Linked DNA regions of Homo sapiens: all the other regions are linked to region 1. The links are contacts of gene promoters, found by promoter capture Hi-C in blood cells and fetal thymus (Javierre and others, 2016). All regions are on one chromosome and are shown on one strand. Each heading gives the region's core, a stretch centred on a gene start or on the middle of the fragment in contact. The rest is flanking DNA. Distances are from core to core; before and after follow the strand shown.

Evidence for each region. Contacts are between HindIII fragments. The CHiCAGO score rates a contact against its expected background, and 5 or more counts as called.
Region 2: a contact is called between a fragment that was not itself captured here and the fragment with the promoter of CFAP54 in region 1, in 1 of 17 cell types (M0 macrophages). The highest score is 5.0, in M0 macrophages.
Region 3: a fragment that was not itself captured here is called in contact with the fragment with the promoter of CFAP54 in region 1 in 1 of 17 cell types (naive CD4 T cells); the score reaches 5.6 in naive CD4 T cells.

The regions. Positions count from the first base shown.
Region 1 is chr12:96,488,200-96,490,893 of GRCh38, reverse strand. CFAP54 (cilia and flagella associated protein 54) reads right to left here and starts at 1,317. Exons shown (of 68, transcript NM_001306084.2): 1 at 968-1,317. The coding sequence starts at 1,284. RefSeq lists an enhancer at 1,069-1,278 and a silencer at 1,169-1,463. The HindIII fragment of the contact is 3,410 bases long and covers 1-1,872 here.
Region 2 is chr12:98,612,725-98,615,418 of GRCh38, reverse strand. It overlaps a transcript of IKBIP not described here. Among named protein-coding and RNA genes, the nearest start is that of SNORA53, 14 kb to the right of the region's middle. RefSeq lists an enhancer at 2,421-2,610. The HindIII fragment of the contact is 531 bases long and covers 1,038-1,568 here.
Region 3 is chr12:98,589,299-98,591,992 of GRCh38, reverse strand. It overlaps the pseudogene PPIAP8. Among named protein-coding and RNA genes, the nearest start is that of SLC25A3, 3.0 kb to the left of the region's middle. The HindIII fragment of the contact is 4,505 bases long and covers 1-2,694 here.

The DNA of each region.
Region 1 (2,694 bases), core at 68-2,567:
TTACTTACATATTTGTTTAGTGGTTGTTTATACCCACAAAAACATATGCTCTATAAGGACATGGATTCTTATATGTTTTGTTAACTTGATGTTTTCCTAGTTCCTTGAACAGCACTTGATATACAGTATGTGCTCAATAAATAGTTGTTATATGCATAAATAAAAAATATTTTATTTTATTTATTTATTATTATTATTTTTTGAGAAGGAGTCTTGCTCTGTCGCCCAGGCTGGAGTGTAGTGGCGCGATCCCAGCTCACTGCAACCTCTGCCTCCCGGGTTCAAGCAATTCTCCTGCCTCAGCCTCCTGAGTAGCTGGGAGTACAGGCATGTGCCACCATGCCCAGCTAATTTTCGTATTTTGTATTCATGTATAAATTTTTGGCTCGCTCAAGGGTTTCACAACTTTCCATGTTATGAGTATATAAATTTGTATATGGAGAAAAAGGAATAACTTCGAGGTAGCTCAGGTTCATGAAGCTAGCTCTTGATACAATGAAGTATGTCATCCTGTGAACATGTGCACTTTAATTCCTTCTTATATTGCTATTAGGATTACAGTGACTTTTTCTTAATTTTGCTATTCATTCTGCGCAACTGTTTGCCTTTTTGGGAGTTCTATCACCATGTTATTACTGCAAACTGCGAACTCTTTTTAAGGTTCTTTCCTGCTTATGTTACCATCTTTCTTTTCTGGTCAAATAACAAATGGTGAGTTATGAAACATTTCTGTGTAGATTTTTATTTTGACCTGAGCAGGAAGCCAAGATATAACAGCTCCCAGGAATTAAGGATTGTTAAGAGCGACGAGTCTCCACTTCTTAAACTTTGTCTCTCCTGGGCCCTTCAGCCAGCCCCTGCGTCCGCAACGCTGAACCATCTCTGGGGCCACCACCTGCATCCTCCAGCCCTTTCCAGGGGTCCCTCCTCTGGCCGGCGCCCTCCCCAGTGCCCCGCCAGCGCTTACCAACGCCGGCGGAATTCGTGCTTCTCTTCCTCCGTGGTGGCTAAAGCCTTCTTTTTCCTCATAAAGCCTAACAACTCCTGGATCTCCTTCTCACAAGAGGCCAGGAGCGGGTTTTTCGCGTCCAGCGGCCCATAAAACACGGCTAGGGGCAATGAGTCCTCGGGGCAGGTCCACTGAAGCAGCGAGCTCCGGGAGCTCCCCTTCGACTCTGGGGGCGACCTCGAAGTCGCGGTGGAGGTCGGCGGCAGTTCTGGCAGAGACCCCGAGGTGGTAGAGTCGTCTGACGGAGAGCTCGAGGGGGAGCCCTGCGCCGCCATATTGACGCGCCCCGGCCCGCCTGGAGTATGTGTACACGCGGTTGCCTGGCGACGGTCTCGTGGCAACCGGGCATCCCGCGCGCATTCCGAGAAACACAGCGGCCCCTGGAGGGCAGAGCGAGAAAGAACCAGGTCCAGAAAACAATGATGCTCCTGAGGGCGTTGCCTGGTTGTGCGCTGGCACCGCTGTATGAAATGCGAACAGAGAATGTTCTGAGCAGAGCGCTGGCGAATATTAGAGCCAAAAATTTAAGGTCACAAATCCAGACTATACTCTTTATCCATGTTGGCCACTTAATAACGATAATGATGACGACCATGACCATTAACGTGTGTCAGGCATTAAGCATTTGAAACATGTACTTTCATTTATCTCATTTAATCATCATAACTACTTTACAACTTAGGATACTATTAGTATATCCATCTCACAGTTTAGGAAACCAAAGCTCAAGGAGGTTAAGTCATTTGACAAAAGTCAGCGTACAACCGTAGTGTCAGCGACCAGGTCCTCCAAAGGGAACTTGTGACTCCAAAGCCTGTGCTCAAAATGAATAGGCTGTATTGATCACTCCCCAAAACAAAGCTTATTAATCAAATTGAAATTAGAGAAATATCTGACAAGCAGTTTAAGAATCAAATACAGTTGGCCCTCCAAATCTCGGGTTCTTCATCTGTGGATTCAAGCAACTCCAGATTGTAAATATTCAGAACAAAATTAGAAATAACAATACAACAATAAAAATAACACAAAATACAACTATTTACATGGCATTTATACTGTATTAGGTATTACTAGTTATCTAGAGATGATTTAAAACATCCTGAAGGATGTGCACAAATTATATGCAAATACTACAGCATTTCATATCAGAGGCTTGAGCATCCACAGATTTTGGTATCTGCGGGTGTCATGGAACTAGTCCCCCACAGATAGCCAGGGAGTACTGAATATGCAGCTGATCCATTCTCTTTCCTCTATTTGTACCTTGAGGTCTGTAACTGTGGACATGATGTCTATGCCTCTAATAATTATGATTACATCTATTTATGCACATTCCAGCCTTACTTTAATTATCTCTGTATTCTAAATTAATGTGCATTTTGCTCAACCTTAACCATAGGACATTAATACATACTAGTGGCCTGAAGTGTTAACTCTCAAAATACTTTGCATTTTAAACAGGGCTTTTAGGAGACTTTACTTCTGATGGGGAAACTACAGACCTCCAGGGAAATACTTGGGGAGTTTATTCTTAGCCTGTGTATTATAGGCAAAAGTCAGAGTTAAATTTATTAAAGTATGAGTATTGAGAAAATGGAGAACCTTCTTTTCTATAAATTATGCAACACAATAAATTATCTAAGAGAAGAACCAGAAATATTTGGTGGCTTAGAAAAATCAGTCTT
Region 2 (2,694 bases), core at 54-2,553, 2.1 Mb before region 1:
TGTCACTACTAAACAACAATCAGCCAGGCGTGGTGGCACACAACTGTGGTACCATCTACTCTGGAGACTGAGGCAGGAGAATCACTTGAACCCAGGAGGTAGAGGTTGCAGTCAGCAGAGATGGGGCTATTGCATTCCAGCCTGGGTACAGAGTGAGTGAGACTTCCATCTCCAAAAAAAAGAGAGAATTTCTAGGAGAGTAGATCTTAAATATTCTTACTACAAAAAAAAATACATGAGGTGATAGATATGTTCATTAGCTTGATTTAATCATTCACAATATGTGCGTAGATATGTATATCAAAATATTACATTGTACACAATAAATATATACAATTTTAATTTGTCAATTATACCTTAATAAAGCTGAAATAAAAAAGAACTTATGTTGCCTTGTCTCACCTAGCAAAGCTCAACTGGAGGAAACTTCCTTTTCCCTTCTCCAGCAACTGAAAAACCACATCACTGTCTCATGTAGCTCATTTTATTACTGTACAGAAGACCAATTGTGAAAATATTATAATGTAAAAAATGTAATTTCCAGGGACATTTCATGAAATTTTCTTAATGTTTCCTTCTTATTCATTAGTAATTCACTTACATTGTTCTAAATTCTCTTACTTCTGAAGTCGTCTTTTACCATATGCTTTCCAGAAGAACAGTAAAGTGTAGTTAAAAAATAACATAAGGCAGGGCGTGGTGGCTCACGCCTGTAATCCCAGGCATGGATTTAGGAGGCCGAGGTGGGCAGATAACCAGAGGTCAGGAGATCGAGACCAGCCTGTCCAACATGGTGAAGACCCGTCTCTACTAAAAATACAAAAAAAGTTAGCTGAGGTGGGGGCGGGTGCCTGTAATCCCAGCTACTTGGGAGGCTGAGTCAGGAAAATCGCTGGAACCCAGGAGGTGGAGGTTTCAGTGAGCCAAGATCGTGCCACTGCACTCCATCCTGGGTAACAGAACAAGCCTCTGTCTCAAAAAAAAAATTAAAATTAAAAAGAAATATAAAATTTAAGATGAATTTTAAATGGTAAGCTTCTAATACATTTAATCATTGTGATATTATATTTTCTTATAGTGGCAGAAATCTGAAGCTATCATGGAACAATTGAAGTCTTTTCAAATAATTGCTCATCTAAAGCGTCTACAGGAAGAAATTAATGAGGTAAAAACTTGGTCCAATAGGATAACTGAAAAACAGGATATACTGAACAACAGTCTGACGACGCTTTCTCAAGACATTACAAAAGTAGACCAAAGTACAACTTCCATGGCAAAAGATGTTGGTCTCAAGATTACAAGTGTAAAAACAGATATACGACGGATTTCAGGTTTAGTAACTGATGTAATATCATTGACAGATTCTGTGCAAGAACTAGAAAATAAAATAGAGAAAGTAGAAAAAAATACAGTAAAAAATATAGGTGATCTTCTTTCAAGCAGTATTGATCGAACAGCAACGCTCCGAAAGACAGCATCTGAAAATTCACAAAGAATTAACTCTGTTAAGAAGACGCTAACCGAACTAAAGAGTGACTTCGACAAACATACAGATAGATTTCTAAGCTTAGAAGGTGACAGAGCCAAAGTTCTGAAGACAGTGACTTTTGCAAATGATCTAAAACCAAAGGTGTATAATCTAAAGAAGGACTTTTCCCGTTTAGAACCATTAGTAAATGATTTAACACTACGCATTGGGAGATTGGTTACCGACTTACTACAAAGAGAGAAAGAAATTGCTTTCTTAAGTGAAAAAATATCTAATTTAACAATAGTCCAAGCTGAGATTAAGGATATTAAAGATGAAATAGCACACATTTCAGATATGAATTAGTTTGACATTATTGAGATTAGACTAAGGTAATTTTTTTAATGGGACCTCTCATGAGAAGACTGGTAAATCAAAAATAATGATATTTTGGAGCAAAAGTCATTTTATATTTAATCCTATTTTGTACAGTAAAAATAAAACTTTAAAACAGGTTGATTTTCCAAAATAAATATGCTAAAACCTATTTTTGCAACTTTACATAGCAAGAACTTTATCCATCCTTCTGACATACATGTTGTTACCCACACACACACACACACACACACACACACACACACATAGGAGAAGCAGAATGTGCTAGTTAGCATGGGGAGATCTCGAAGGGGCAGGATCTGAATCCCCACTTGCCCTCTCTGGCTGCCAGGGAGCCCAGCATGTGTGTTTAGGGACCTAACTGAAGGGACCCCTCAGGGGACAGGGCTGCGGCATTCATTATCCAGTTAGAGGAAGAGAAACTAGAAAGGTCACAGTGAGCTGCAGGGGAAAAAAAATAAAAGCCTATCTGGGTCCTTCATGGCTTTAGGAAACAGGGAAAGGAACAGTAGTGTCTCGGTCTATTTGGGCTGGTGTATAATAGTATAGCAAGAACTTTAGGTAGCCTGTAACTAACAAATTTATTTCTCACTGTTCTAGAGGCTGGAAAGTCTGAGATCAAGGTACTGGCAGATTCAGTGTCTAGTGTGGGCCCACTTCCTGGTTCATAGCACCTTCTAGCTGTGTCCTCACGTGGTGGAAGGAGCAAGCAGCAATCTGGGGCCTCTTTTATAGGGGCACTAATCCTGTCCATGAAGACTCCTACCTTATGACCTAATCACCTCCCAAATGTCTCACATTGGATTTCAACGTATGAATTTTGGGGAGAC
Region 3 (2,694 bases), core at 11-2,510, 2.1 Mb before region 1:
AAGACTCCGTCTCAAAAAAAAAAAAAAACAAAAAAACAAAAGTTAGCATTGAGGCTGCGGCATCACGGCACTCTCTAAGCAACCCTATCCCAGACCCAGCCCTTCTGGCCCAACTAAAGTCCTACAGTCCCAGGAAGAATTCCAGAGTGGAGGGCACAGGAAGGGAAGTAGTGACAGATAAAGTTAAAAAAGTACACTAGCACCTGATTGTCCAGGGCCTCACATACCAGACTGAGGAGTCTGATCTTATGTAGACAGAGGTAGTCACTGAAGGGTCTGGACTTTCTCTCTCTCTTTTTTGGTTAATTCAACTTTATGGTGCTTTTCTAATTTAAAAATCCTTTGTCATGAAAAAGTCAAATATTATGTAAAAATATATGACTGTAGTGAATCTTCCTATTCCCTTCCCCCAGCACCGGGTAATACCGTGACCCTTTGCTGCACATTTTTTCAGCTGGAACAGCTGGTACCCTTCACCATGGGGCTGCACATGCTCGTGGCCCAGAACTCACAGAAGTTGATCTAGAAGATACAGTGGTAACTGAAGGAGCTGCAGGCCCAGCTCCTACCCCATGTGGGAGCTGGTGACCTTCAGAATGTAATGACTGTTGCTCCACTTCTGCCTTCCAAACTGCACACATTTCTCTTATAGCTAGCCCTAACCCAAAACTATGCAGGGAAAGGAATCTAGGAAATGTGGTTCTAGCCTAGCTAAGTTGACATGGTAAAAAAAACACCACTGGGCTTTGCAGGCACCGCTGCTGCCAGGAGCCCTGTGCTATCAGCCATGGTCAACCCCACCGTGTTCTTTGACACGGAGCCCTTGGGCCGCATCTCCTTTGAGCTGTTTGCAGACAAGTTTCCAAAGACAGCAGGAAACTTTCATGCTCTGAGCACTGGAGAGAAAGGATTTGGCTATAAGGGTTCCTGCTTTCACAGAATTGTTCCAGGGTTTATGTGTCAGGGTGGAGACTTCACATGCCATGATGGCACTGGTGGCAAGTCCATCTACAGGGAGAAATTTGATGACAAGAACTTCATCCGGAAGCATACAGTTTCTGGCATCTTGTCCATGGCAAATGCTGGACCCAACGCAAACAGTTCCCAGTTTTTCATCTGTGCTGCCAAGACTGAGTGGTTGGATGGCAAGCATGTGGTCTTCAGCAAGGTGAAAGAAGGCATGAATATTGTGGAGACCATGGAGTGCTTTGGGTCCAGGAATGGCAAGACCAGTAAGAAGATCACCATTGCTGACTGTGGGCAACTCTAATAAGTTTGACTTGTGTTTTATCTTAACCACCAGACCATTCCTTCTGTAGCTCAGGAGAGCACCCTCCACCCCATTTGCTCGCAGTATCCTAGAATCTTTGTGCTCTCACTGCAGTTCCCTTTGGGTTCTATGTTTTCCTTGTTCCTTTCCATGCCTAGCTAGATTGCAGAGTTAAGTTTATGATTATGAAATAAAAACTAATTAACAACAGCAACAAAAAAAGTACCAGAGTCTATCGGTTGTCAACATGGCATCAATGAACACCTCTTGTAATCATATTTAACTTCCAGACAAAAACTAAAGAGCAAAATCAGACTTCTACCTAACATGAAGCAGCTGTCCCTTGGACAATTGTGAACAAGCTAATTCTACCCAAAAGAGGATACAAAATCCTTTTATCCGTCTTTAGGTGATGTTATTGCAGCAGGTATGGACTAAGACAAGGGGGTTGGCCTCCTTAACATTCAAGAGGCTCTCGGCCTCCAACCTGACACAAGTAGGGAAATTGCCTGAAGGACCATAACTCTCCACTGTGGAGATTCAAATCTGCCTCCCGGGTTCAAGCAATTCTCCTGCCTCAGCCTCCGGAGTAGCTGGGATTACAGGCACGCGCCACCATGCCCGGCTAATTTTGTATTTTTAGTAGAGATGGGGTTTCTCCATGTTGGTCAGTCTGGTCTCGAACTCCCAACCTCAGGTGATCCACCTGCCTCGGCCTCCCAAAGTGGACAGTAGGTTTTAAGAAGAATCAGCAGATCCCGCCAGGCAACCACCTCAGGTGAGGCCATTACAGATTTCACAGGGACGAGGAACATAACCTCCTCAGACAGGAGAGGAAGGGCTTCTTTGACTGACAAGGAGGCTCAACAGAATTTAGGGGTTCTGGCTGGGCATGGTGGCTCACGCCTATAATCCCAGAACTTTGGGAAGCCGAGGTAGGTGGATCTCTTGAGTCCAGGAGTTAAAAACCAGCCTGGACAACATGGTGAAACCCTGTCTCTTAAAAAAAAAAAAAAAAAAAAGCCAGGCATAGTGGCATGCCCCTGCAGTCCCAGCTACGCAAGAGGCTGAGGAGGGAGGATCACTTGAGCCTGGGAAGCAGAGGTAGCAGTGAGCCGAGATCGCGCCATTGTACTCCAGCCTAAGCAACAGTTAGAGATCTTGTCTCAAAAAAGAAAAAAAAAAAGAATATGGGGGTTCATGGTCCTAGTGGAATCATAATCTGCCCAGGTGTCACTATTCCAAAATTTTGGGTCTCAAAACATTGCCCTAACTTTAAACACTATGAGATTGGGAATTCAATTTGCATTGTAATTCAGAATTAGATTTTGAGTTTGATTTTTAGAAAGTACAGTCTTGCAGATACAGCAAAGCAGTCAAGGCGACCAGGTGCGGTGGCTCATGCCTGTAATCTCAGCACTTTG